Linked DNA regions of Homo sapiens: all the other regions are linked to region 3. The links are contacts of gene promoters, found by promoter capture Hi-C in human tissues and cell types (Jung and others, 2019). All regions are on one chromosome and are shown on one strand. The core of a region is centred on a gene start or on the middle of the fragment in contact, and the rest is flanking DNA. Distances in the headings are between cores, read along the strand shown. Region 1 overlaps TEX11 (testis expressed 11). Region 2 overlaps TEX11 (testis expressed 11). Region 3 holds the start of SLC7A3 (solute carrier family 7 member 3).

The links. The method cuts DNA at HindIII sites, captures the fragments that hold promoters and counts their contacts. A contact is called where the count stands out against the background at its distance.
Region 1: a contact is called between a fragment that was not itself captured here and the fragment with the promoter of SLC7A3 in region 3, in 1 of the 25 tissues and cell types used here (neural progenitor cells).
Region 2: a contact is called between a fragment that was not itself captured here and the fragment with the promoter of SLC7A3 in region 3, in 1 of the 25 tissues and cell types used here (small bowel).

What each region holds. Positions count from the first base shown.
Region 1 is chrX:70,892,301-70,895,911 of GRCh38, reverse strand. The region is part of intron 2 of TEX11 (testis expressed 11); the gene reads left to right. Among named protein-coding and RNA genes, the nearest start is that of TEX11, 15 kb to the left of the region's middle. The HindIII fragment of the contact is 5,725 bases long and covers 1-3,611 here.
Region 2 is chrX:70,872,136-70,876,082 of GRCh38, reverse strand. It overlaps TEX11 (testis expressed 11), which reads left to right. Exons shown (of 30, transcript NM_031276.3): 4 at 2,776-2,860. Among named protein-coding and RNA genes, the nearest start is that of SNORD3E, 28 kb to the right of the region's middle. The HindIII fragment of the contact is 9,503 bases long and covers 1-3,947 here.
Region 3 is chrX:70,929,348-70,932,813 of GRCh38, reverse strand. SLC7A3 (solute carrier family 7 member 3) reads left to right here and starts at 1,718. Exons shown (of 12, transcript NM_032803.6): 1 at 1,718-1,837; 2 at 2,792-3,186. The coding sequence starts at 2,817. RefSeq lists an enhancer at 1,974-2,475. The HindIII fragment of the contact is 11,797 bases long and covers 1-3,466 here.

The DNA.
Region 1 (3,611 bases), core at 504-3,003, 37 kb after region 3:
ATGGTTTTAGGTTTTACATTTAAGTCTTTAATCCATCTTGAGTTAATTTTTGTATAAGGTGTAGGGAAGGGATCCGGTTTCTGTTTTCTGCGTATGGCTAGCCAGTTTTCCTGGCACCATTTATTAAATAGGGAATCCTTTCCCCATTGCTTGCTTTTGTCAAGTTTGTTGAAGATCAGATGGTTGTAGATGTGTGGTGTTATTTCTGAAGCTTCTGTTCTGTTCCATTGGTCTATATATCTGTTTTGGTACCAGTACCATGCTGTTTTGGTTATTGTAGCCTATTAGTATAATTTGAGGTAAGACAGCGTGATGCCTCCAGCTTTGTTCTTTTTGCTTAGGATTGTCTTGGCTATACAGGCTCTTTTTTGGTTCCATATGAAATTTAAAGTAGTTTTTCTAATTCTGCAAAGAAAGTCAATGATAGCTTAGTAGGAATAGCATTGAATCTATAAATTACTTAGGTCAGTATGCCCATTTTCATGATATTTATTCTTCTTATCCATGAGCATGGAATTTTTTTCCATTTGTTTGTGTCCCCGCTTATTTCCTTGAGCAGTGGTTTGTAGTTCTCCTTGAAGAGATCCTTCACATTCCTTGTAAGTTGTATTCCTAGATATTTTATTCTTTTTGTAGCAATTGTGAATGGGATTTCACTCATGATTTGGTTCTCTGCTTGTCTATTATTGGTATATAGGAATGCTTGTGATTTTTGCACATTGATTTTATATGCTGAAGTTGCTTATCACCTTAAGGAGTATTTGGGCTGAGATGATGGGGTTGTCTAAATATACAATCATGTCATCTGCAAACAGAGATAATTTGGCTTCCTCTCTTCCTATTTGAATACCACTAATTTCTTTTTCTTGCCTCATTGACCTGGCCAGAACTTCCAACACTATGTTGAATAGGAGTGGTGAGAAAGGGCATCCTTGTCTTGTGCCAGTTTTCAAAGGGAATGCTTCCAGCTTTTACCCATTCAGTATGATATTGACTGTGGGTTGTCATAAATAGCTCTTATTATTTTGAGATATGTTCCATCAATACCTAGTTTATTGAGAGTTTTTAGCATGAAGGGCTGTTGAATTTTATTAAAGGCTTTTTCTGCATCTATTGAGATAATCATGTGCTTTCTGTCATTGGTTCTGTTTATGTGATGGATTATGTTTATCGATTTGCGTATGTTGAACCAGCCTTGCATCCCCGGGATGAAGCCGACTTGATCGTGGTGGATAAGCCTTTTTGATGTGCTGCTGGATTTGGTTTGCCAGTATTTTTTTTTTTTTTTAGACGGAGTCTCGCTCTGTCGCCAGGCTAGAGGGCAGTGGCGCAATCTTGGCTCACTGCAACCTCTTCCTCCCGGGTTCAAGTGATTCTCCTGCCTCAGCCTCCCGAGTAGCTGGGACTACAGGCATGCGCCACCACGCCTAGCTGATTTTTGTATTCTTAGTAGAGACGGGGCTTCACCAGGTTGGCCAGGATGGTCTCGATCTCTTGACCTCATGATCTGCTTGCCTTGGCCTCCCAAAGTGCTGGGATTACAGGTGTGAGCCACTGCGCCTGGCCTGGTTTACCAATATTTTATTAAGGATTTTTGCATCAGTGTTCATCAGTGATATTGGCCTGAAATTTTCTTTTTTCGTGTGTGTGTCTCTGCCAGGTTTTGGTATCAGGATGATGCTGGCCTCATAAAATGAGTTAGGGAGTAGTCTCTCTTTTTCTATTGTTTGGAATAGTTTCGGAAGGAATGGTACCAGCTCCTCTTTGTACCTCTGGTAGAATTCAGCTGTGAATCTGTCTGGTCCTGGGATTTTTTTGGTTGCTAGGCTATTAATTACTGCCTCAATTTCAGAACTTGTTATTGGTCTATTCAGGGATTTGACTTCTTCCTGATTTAGTCTTGGGAGGTGTATGTGTGCAGGAATTCATCCATTTCTTCTAGATTTTCTAGTTTATTTGTGTAGAGATGTTTATTGTATTCTCTGATGGTAATTTGTATTTCTGTGGGACCAGTGGTGATAGCCTCTTTATAATTTTTTATTATCTATTTGATTCTTCTCTCTTTTCTTCTTTATTAGTCTAGCTAGTGGTCTATCTATTCTGTTAATCTTTTCAAAAAACCAGCTCCTGGACTCAATGATTTTTTGAAGGGTTTTTTGTGTCTCTATCTCCTTCAGTTCTGCTCTGATCTTAGTTATTTCTTGTCTTCTGGTGGCTTTTGAATTTGTTTGCTCTTGCTTCTCTAGTTCTTTTAATTGTGATGTTTGGGTGTCAATTTCAGATCTATCCAGCTTTCCGATGTGGGCACTTAGTACTATAAATTTCCCACTTAACACTGCTTTAGCTGTGTCCCAGCACAACAACCCTGGTATGTTGTCTCTTTGCTCTCATTGGTTTCAAACAACTTCATTATTTCTGCCTTAATTTCGTTATTACCCAGTAGTCATTCAGGAGCAGGTTGTTCAATTTCCATATAGTTGTGTGGTTTTGAGTGAGTTTCTTAACCCTGAGTTCTAATTTGATTGCACTGTGTTCTGAGAGACTGTTTGTTATGATTTCCTTTCTTTTGTTATGATTTCCGTTCTTTTGCATTTGCTGAGGAGTATTTTACTTCCAATTATGTGGTCAATTTTAGAATAAGTGCTATGTGGTGCCGAGAAGAATGTATATTCTGTTGATTTGGGGTGGAGTGTTCTGTAGATGTCTATTAGCTCCACTTGGTCTAGAGTTGAGTTCAAGTCCTGAATATCCTTGTTAATTTTCTGTCTCGTTGATCTGTCTAATATTGACAGTGGGGTGTTGAAGTCTCCCACTATTATTGTGTGGGAGTCTAAGTCTCTTTGTAGGTCTCTAACAACTTCCTTTATGAATCTGGGTGCTCCTGTATTGGGTGCATATATATTTAGGATAGTTAGCTCTTCTTGTTGTATTGATCTTTTTACCATTATGTAATGCCCTCATCTTTTTTGATCTTTGTTGGTTTAAAGTGTGTTTTATCAGAGACTAGGATTGCAACCCCTGCTTTTTTTTTGCTTTCCATTTGCTTGGTAAATAACCCTCCATCCCTTTATTTTGAGCTTCTGTGTGTCTTTGCACGTGAGATTGATCTCCTGAATACAGCACAGTGATGGGTCTTGACTCTTTATCCAATTTGCCAGTATGTGTCTTTTTTTTTTTTTGAGACTAAGTCTTGCTTTGTCTCCCAGGCTGGAGTGCAGTGGGTCGATCTCATCTCACTGCAACCTCCGCCTCCCAGGTTCAAGGGATTCTATTGCCTCAGCCTCCCAAGTAGCTGGGATTACAGACGTGTGCCACCACGCCCAGCAATTTTTTGTATTTTTAGTAGAGACAGGGTTTCACTATGTTGGCCCAGCTGGTCTTGAACTCCTGACCTCTTGATCCACCCGCCTCAGCCTCCCAAAGTGCTGGGATTACAGGCGTGAGCCACTGCGCCTGGCTAGTCTGTGTCTTTTAATTGGGGCATTTAGCCCATTTACATTTAAGGTTAACATTGTTATGTGTGAATTTGATCCTGTCAACATGATGCTATCTGGTTATTTTGCTCATTAGTTAATGCAGTTTCTTCATAGTGTTGTTGGTCTTTATATTTT
Region 2 (3,947 bases), core at 720-3,219, 57 kb after region 3:
CAGTTGTAAACATTTTACCATATTCGCTTCATCACATATACATTTGTCCATTAGCGCATCTTATTTTTTGGGTGCATTTTAAAATGAGTTGCTGACAACAGTACACTTCCCCCCTAAATGTTTTAGTGTGCATATCATTAACTAGAATCCAATATTTTATTGAAGTTCTTCTTTGGGGTAAGATTTGCATATGTACAACTTTCTGTACATACAGTTTTGTATCTTTCCTTCTTTCCTTTTTCACTAGACATGTAATAAATATTTTCCCGTGTTAAAAACATAGTTTTCATGACCACTATTTTATTTTATTTTTGTTTTTATTTTTATTTTTTTGAGGCAGAGTCTCGCTCTGTCGCCCAGGCTGGAGTGCAGTGGCACGATCTCGGCTCACTGCAACCTCCACCTCTCAGGTTTAAGTGATTCTTCTGCCTCAGCCTCCCGAGTAGCTGAGACTACAGGTGTGCACCACCACACCTGGCTATTTTTTTTTTTTTTTTTGTATTTTTAGTAGAGACGGGGTTTCACCAAGTTGGCCAGGCTGGTCTCGAACTCTTGACCTCAAGTGATCCACCTGCCTCGGCCTCCCAGAGTGCTGGGATTACAGGCGTGAGCCACCATGTCTGGCCATGACCACTATTTTAAATGGATGAATACTATTCCATCAAGGAAGGTTATCATAATTCACCTATTTCTTTATTATTGGATATTTATATTGTTTCTCATATTGTTCCTCATTTTTCACTATTATAAATAATGATATGAAGAACACTATTAAGTGCAAAGATTATCCCCCCACACATTTTCATCTATTTCTTAGGATAAAGTCTCAAAAGTGCAACTATTGGGACAAAAGATATGAACTTTATTTGTTTATTTATTTATTTACTCATTTATTTATTTTTATTGAGACAGAGTCTCGCTCTGTCTCGCCCAGGCTGGAGTACAGTGGCATGATCTTGGCTCACTGCAACCTCCGCCTCCTGGGGTCAAGTGATTCTCATGCCTCAGCCTCCCGAGTAGCTGGGATTACAGGCACCTGCCACCACGCACGACTAATTTTTGTATATTTTAGTAGAGACAGGGTTTGACCATGTTGGCCAGGCTGGTCTCGAACACCTGACCTCAGGCAATCCGACCGCCTCGGCCTCCCAAAGTGCTGGGATTACAGGTGTGAGCCACCGCACCCAGGCGAACATTTTTATATGTTGCCAAATTGCTTTCCAAAATGCCAAACAAGTAGCTTCTTTAAGCTATTTAGTCTGGATGCTCATTTCCCATCATAATATGTCAAATCATTTGTTCTTCTGGGTAATTTGGAGTGCAGTTATTAACTCCATGTGTTTTTAGTGATACAAATGAAATAATACTTAGTATGAAAGTCAGCCGGGTGTGGTGGCTCATGCCTGTAATCCCAGCACTTTGGGAGGTTGAGGCGGGCGGATCACCTGAGGTCAGGAGTTCGAGACCAGTCTGGCCTACATGGTGAAACCCCATCTCAAGTAAAAATACAAAAATTAGCCAGGCATTATGGTGGGTGCCTGTAATCCCAGCTACTTGGGAGGCTGAGGTGGGAGAATCACTTGAACCCGGGAGGTGGTGGTTGCAGTGAGCCGAGATCACGCCATTGCACTCCAGCTTGGGCAACAAAATGAGACTCTGTCTCCAAAAAAAAAAAAAAAAAAAAAAAGGAAGTCATCATTTGATCAACTGTGGCATTGAGGATACTATGTGATGGAGATGGACATGATAATTAGCCCCAGAATAATAAGTGAAATGACAACCATGCTGCATTAGGCTGTTTGCATTGCTATAAAGGAAATACCTGAGGCTGGGTAATTGATAAGGAAAAGAAGTTTATTTGGCTCATGGTTCTGCAGATCATATAAGAAGCATGGCACTGGCATCTGCTTCCAGTGAGGGCCTCTGGAAGTTTCCAATCATGTTGGAAGGGGAAAGGGAGCAGGCATCACATGATGAGAGAGGAGGAAAGAGAAAGGAGGAGGTACCAGGCTCTTTTTTAAGAATCAGATCTTGCAGTAACTAATAGACTGAGAACTCACTCATTACTGTGAGGACAGCACCAAGACAATGAGGGATCCATCCCCGTGACCCAAGTACCTCCCATCAGCCCCACATCCAACATTGGGGATCAAATTTTGATATGAGATTCTCAGGGGAAAAATATCCAAACTATATCACATGTTAAATAAATCATCTGTTTAAACTGAAGCTCATCAGAAAAATGTGAAATGGTAAGTGAGAAAAGTGGCATGGAAGAAAAGACTTAAAACTAACATACATTTTGTACCACTGCTGTGCATAAATTGGGTTAAAGAAAAGAAATAAAACAAAGAATAAATGATACAAAGTAATATAATTAATTGCCAAATTGTATACAACTTAATGAATATATGAATTCAAAGAAGAAAGAACAACGTAGACTGTAATGGTTGCTGAAAGCTTCATTTATGTTGTTGGTGAGACTGAAATGGATTTGAGTTACATAAAAACAAAGGGAGGAGGTATATCAGGTGAAGGTATATCAATAGTATGAATAAAGACACATTGATAGGAATGAACAAGTTGTGTTCAGGAAATAGATAATTACTCTAACAGTGGGTAAGTTTTTGCGGGGAGAGGTAGAATGCGACTAGATTATGGAGGGCCTGGAAATGACCCACAATAGTTACATAAGCATACAACATTCAAGAATGAAAATACCGTTGGAGGTGGCCAGTATTTTAACTAACTAAGGAAATGTTTCTCTTTGACCAGATTGAAGAAATGGCAGTAAACCTATGGAACTGGGCACTTACCATAGGAGGAGGTTGGCTTGTAAATGAAGAGCAGAAAATTAGATGTATGTATACATATTGTGACATGTATTATGAGGCGTGTTCTTACTATATATTGGGTAGTATTCCTGCAGTTTAAATAATGTTTTGACCCATTCTTAGATAGAGATTTGTTAAAAGACAAACAAAACAACCCAGGAACAATGGTTTCTCAAGCAAATGGCCTCCCTCAGTTTTATGATTTTTTTTTCAGAGGTTAGCTCCTTATTAACAAACGTTTAAAGATATCACTGCAAGAAATAGTCAGGAGGTGAACAACAAAGATGATTAAAAGGTGGGACAGTGAGAACTTAAAGAAATGTTAAAGGACATGGATTATTTCTCATGGAGATGATCAAAATCTTCAGGGTTCTGAAGGACCATCAAATAGTAGTTTCCCCTCTATTAATAATAGAATAAGTGTTGCCATATGACATATTCAGATTTTAAAAAGTGTAAAGAATAGTTTCCTCAGGAGATGGATTGATAAACATTGGAATGAGTTACTGAGAAACTATAGAAATGATTTCTACCTGTGAGAGCAAACAACAAGAACAAAAAAACCAAAAATCTCAAACTAAACTCATCTTCTTGGATGCTTTGAATGTGGTCCACTGTCTGGCAATGTTCTAGTGCTTTAGCTAAATGGGCAAAGTCTAGTGTGCTGACAGTTAGTGATTTTCAACAGGCATAGTGACAGCAAATGCATTTATGGGAAGTATATTGCCAATTATAAAGGATACATTGAAGTAACATACCAAAGGGTGAACCTCTGGACTGCTTGACATTGTAAAGACAAATGACTTTTGTCTGTATGCAACAAATATAATTTACTACTAACTATTTATCTTTGTGAATATGAACAAAACTGTATACAACTTCCGTGTAGATATAGGGTAATTGTGCTTAATATAATCAAGAATATACTTGCTCATGAGTCCACTCTATTAGCATGTTTAGAGAACAGTTCTAGCTCTTTAACTCTTAGATAAATTGATATCATTGCTCCCAGGAGCCTCAGATCCTGTAGTTATGGGGAGGTAAGAGCTAGGAATTTATCAGTGGAAGAAACTTAGTACACAGGTGAACCGTGTGATATTAAAGTGCGTTAAT
Region 3 (3,466 bases), core at 469-2,968:
GGCATTTGGATTTTATCTCTGTGATAAATAATCAATCTCATAATCCAATCAATCACCTAATCTAAGCAACCAGATCATATACACTAATATATCGTTCCAAATATGTATCAAGTTTTTCTTGAGTACTTTCCATGTGCCAGGCAGGAAGACTTGACTTCATAATCTCATCTAAGCATCACAACAACCTTGTGAAATATGTATATTATGTCCAGAAACTGAGGCTCAGGGATGTTAGGTAATCCACAGTGGCTGAGCTGTGAGTTTAACCTAGGTGCAATTCCAAACACAGCACTCCTAACGTCTATGTAATAAGGTTTCAGTTGTATAGTGTGTGTTTTCTTTCCCTAGTTAGATTAGGACTAGGAGGGCAAGGATTTTATTTTATGTTTCCTTCATAGTCTCTTCATTGCTGTACCAGCTACTACACATAGTGCTCAATAAATGCTCAATAAATACTTAATGAATGCCAAATGGAGCTGCAGCTGGTTGAAAATACCAATTCTTTCAGAACGGATTTAGATTTTAGATTCATGGGTAATATATTCATCATGGATCATTAAAAGAAGCAAGGATATTTGAGTCCATCCTTAGTCCCCAAGATGTCTTGGTGGAGCAGGGACCACACTTTCACAACCTTTGGTGCTTTCTTATGAGTAAGAATTGATTGGGTCAGATGGATTATGGATCTGACCCAATGTGATCATTCGTAGATTCTTCGGGTCCTTTTCTGTTTCCTAGTATCTCCTAGCCTAAACGGACCTACCCTGCTGCTGATGCCTCTCCCTGTTTGTCTTTCCTTGTGGCCACATCCCTCTTCTTGTTCATTTGAATAAGATATGGTGCCTACGGGAGGCAGGCATTGAAGTCCAACAGGCCAGGTTTTATCAAAGGTGGTCAACAATAATTATGGTGTGGTGTCAAACAAGTCATGCCTCTGAGCCTCAGCTTACACATCAATAAAATGGAACTAAACAAGCTTCCTCCTCCAAGATGTTGGTATTGTCAGAATTTCACATTTAATAGTTTAATATTTATAGGCAGCTGGAGACACATTATAGAGAGATTGGGGCCTATAAATCAATTTAGACTGGATTAATTATCTGTATACAGGTGGCTTGAAATCATCTTCCATTCTCCTGCTGCCTGCATTAGAAACACCCACAGCTGAGCGTGAGAGCTGAAGGGTCAGGGTCAGATGTGTAGACAAGAAAGCTAAGGAAGAAAGACTGAGAGTGAGGTGGAGACTCCCCTGCTGTGTTCCGCTTCACTCCTGACACACACACACACACACACACACACACACACACACACACGCACCCAACTCCCCCCCATCACACCCCACCTACCTTCCCCATTCCTGCCCAGAATCACTGGTCCTAACAGGGCACAGAGGTGGAAAATCTCATGGGTTCTTTGGCCAGGAAGCCTCTTATTGTCCTGTTCTGACGACCAGCGAGACAAATGGGAAAAGACTGCCCTCCCCCTTTTCTCGCTCCCCGGCACGCCAGGCTTGCTAGTGAGGATGGGACGCAGTCTCAGGCCCCACGCAATCCTTTTGCAAAGCCAAGAAGTGTGTGTGTTGTGTGTGTGTGTGTGTGTGTGTGTGTGTGTGTGTGTGTGTATTGTGTGTAGCGAGGAGGATTGGGGGTGGGATCCCATGACGTTACCGGCTCCGCCTCCTGGTGTATATAAGGGGCGCTTGGCGCGCAACGACCCCAAGCCGCAGCTTTGAAGCCTGAGCGGCCGAACTCGGCAGCTCCAACCCAACTCGGCTTAACTCCGCCTCACCGAGCCCAGTCCAAGACTCTGTGCTCCCTAGGTTTGCAACAGCTCTCTGGTAAGCGTTGGGGACCCACACGTGTGTCGGAGGGGGGACGGCGAGGGTCCGGGCGTACCTAGGATTCTCTGGCAACCATGGCATGCAGTTGCATCAACGGGGCCGTGACCTGTTGCTGGCGAGACCCCCGCCCCGGGAGTTAGGGCTCCCGTCTCCACCCCAGCTCCAAACCATTTCTAGATGGGGGCAGGAAAATCTGGGACCTGAGTCGGGGGGCATCGGGTGGAACCCTTCCTCTCTGCTGAGAGGAGAGTGCGAGCAATCTCGGGCTGCCCTGGGGCCCCTCTGGGGGCGCATCTCCAAATCTTTAGATGTCGAAGCCCCGCCTCGCTGTTGATGCTTGCAGGTCAGCCTAGCAGGGCTTGGGAGGAAGTAGGGGAACATTTGCTTACTCCCCTGGGCGACAGCTGCGCTAGTTGAGCAGTGTGGGCTTGGTGAGGAGGGATGGAATTGAGTCGGTGCTCACTTTTAATCTGCAGCGAGGTTGGTCCCCTCTCCCTCTGGGGGGTCTGGGGGCTGTGTCTGTTTGAAGCCCCGGGGGAAGCCCCTGGGTGGAGCTCTGTTTAATTCCCAAATAGCCACAGGCCAAGGAACTGACACATTAGGTTTCAAGATTCCTGGGTTGAGATTAGGATAAACCCTATCAGTTTCTGGCAAGAGAAAGAGACCTAATATTGATTGAGCACTTACTAGGCGCCAGCCACTCTACTTCAGGGGGCTTTCACGTGCCATTTCTGAAATTAGCCCTTCCAAAAACCTTGTAAGGTATTGTAATTCCTACTTGTTTATGAAGAAACTGAGGTTAGAGGTAAAGTGACTTGCCTTTGTCCCTTCCATATCCCCGTCCTCATTTCCCAATAGCTCCTTTGCTTGGTGGAGGGGGTCTTGTAATTCGCTTTCAGAGTTTAGGGATAATGAGCCCTGTCGAGGGGTTTTTGTCTTGTTTTTCACCAGATCATCTTCTTCAATTCCTGCTAGGATGCCGTGGCAAGCATTTCGCAGATTTGGTCAAAAGCTGGTACGCAGACGTACACTGGAGTCAGGCATGGCTGAGACTCGCCTTGCCAGATGCCTAAGCACCCTGGATTTAGTGGCCCTGGGTGTGGGCAGCACATTGGGTGCAGGCGTGTATGTCCTAGCTGGCGAGGTGGCCAAAGATAAAGCAGGGCCATCCATTGTGATCTGCTTTTTGGTGGCTGCCCTGTCTTCTGTGTTGGCTGGGCTGTGCTATGCGGAGTTTGGTGCCCGGGTTCCCCGTTCTGGTTCGGCATATCTCTACAGCTATGTCACTGTGGGTGAACTCTGGGCCTTCACCACTGGCTGGAACCTCATCCTCTCCTATGTCATTGGTGAGATATGGTGGGGGAGGGAGGGAACTGCACAGCCAGCAAAGGGGTTTTTGGTCAGGAAATCTGGGTGGAAGTATTCTTTATATTATTCACAGGACCTCAATCTCCCTAAATGTGCGGGTTTGCTGGGGGTCTGGGGGGGGGTGTTGAAGGTGTGGAGAAATTGCTCATTCTATCCATCTCCGTCCTGGTTTCCTTAATTAAGTGAATGGTTTTGGTTCTTAAAAAGTAATAATAGGCCAGGTGCAGTGGCTCACGCCTATAATCCCAACACTTTGGG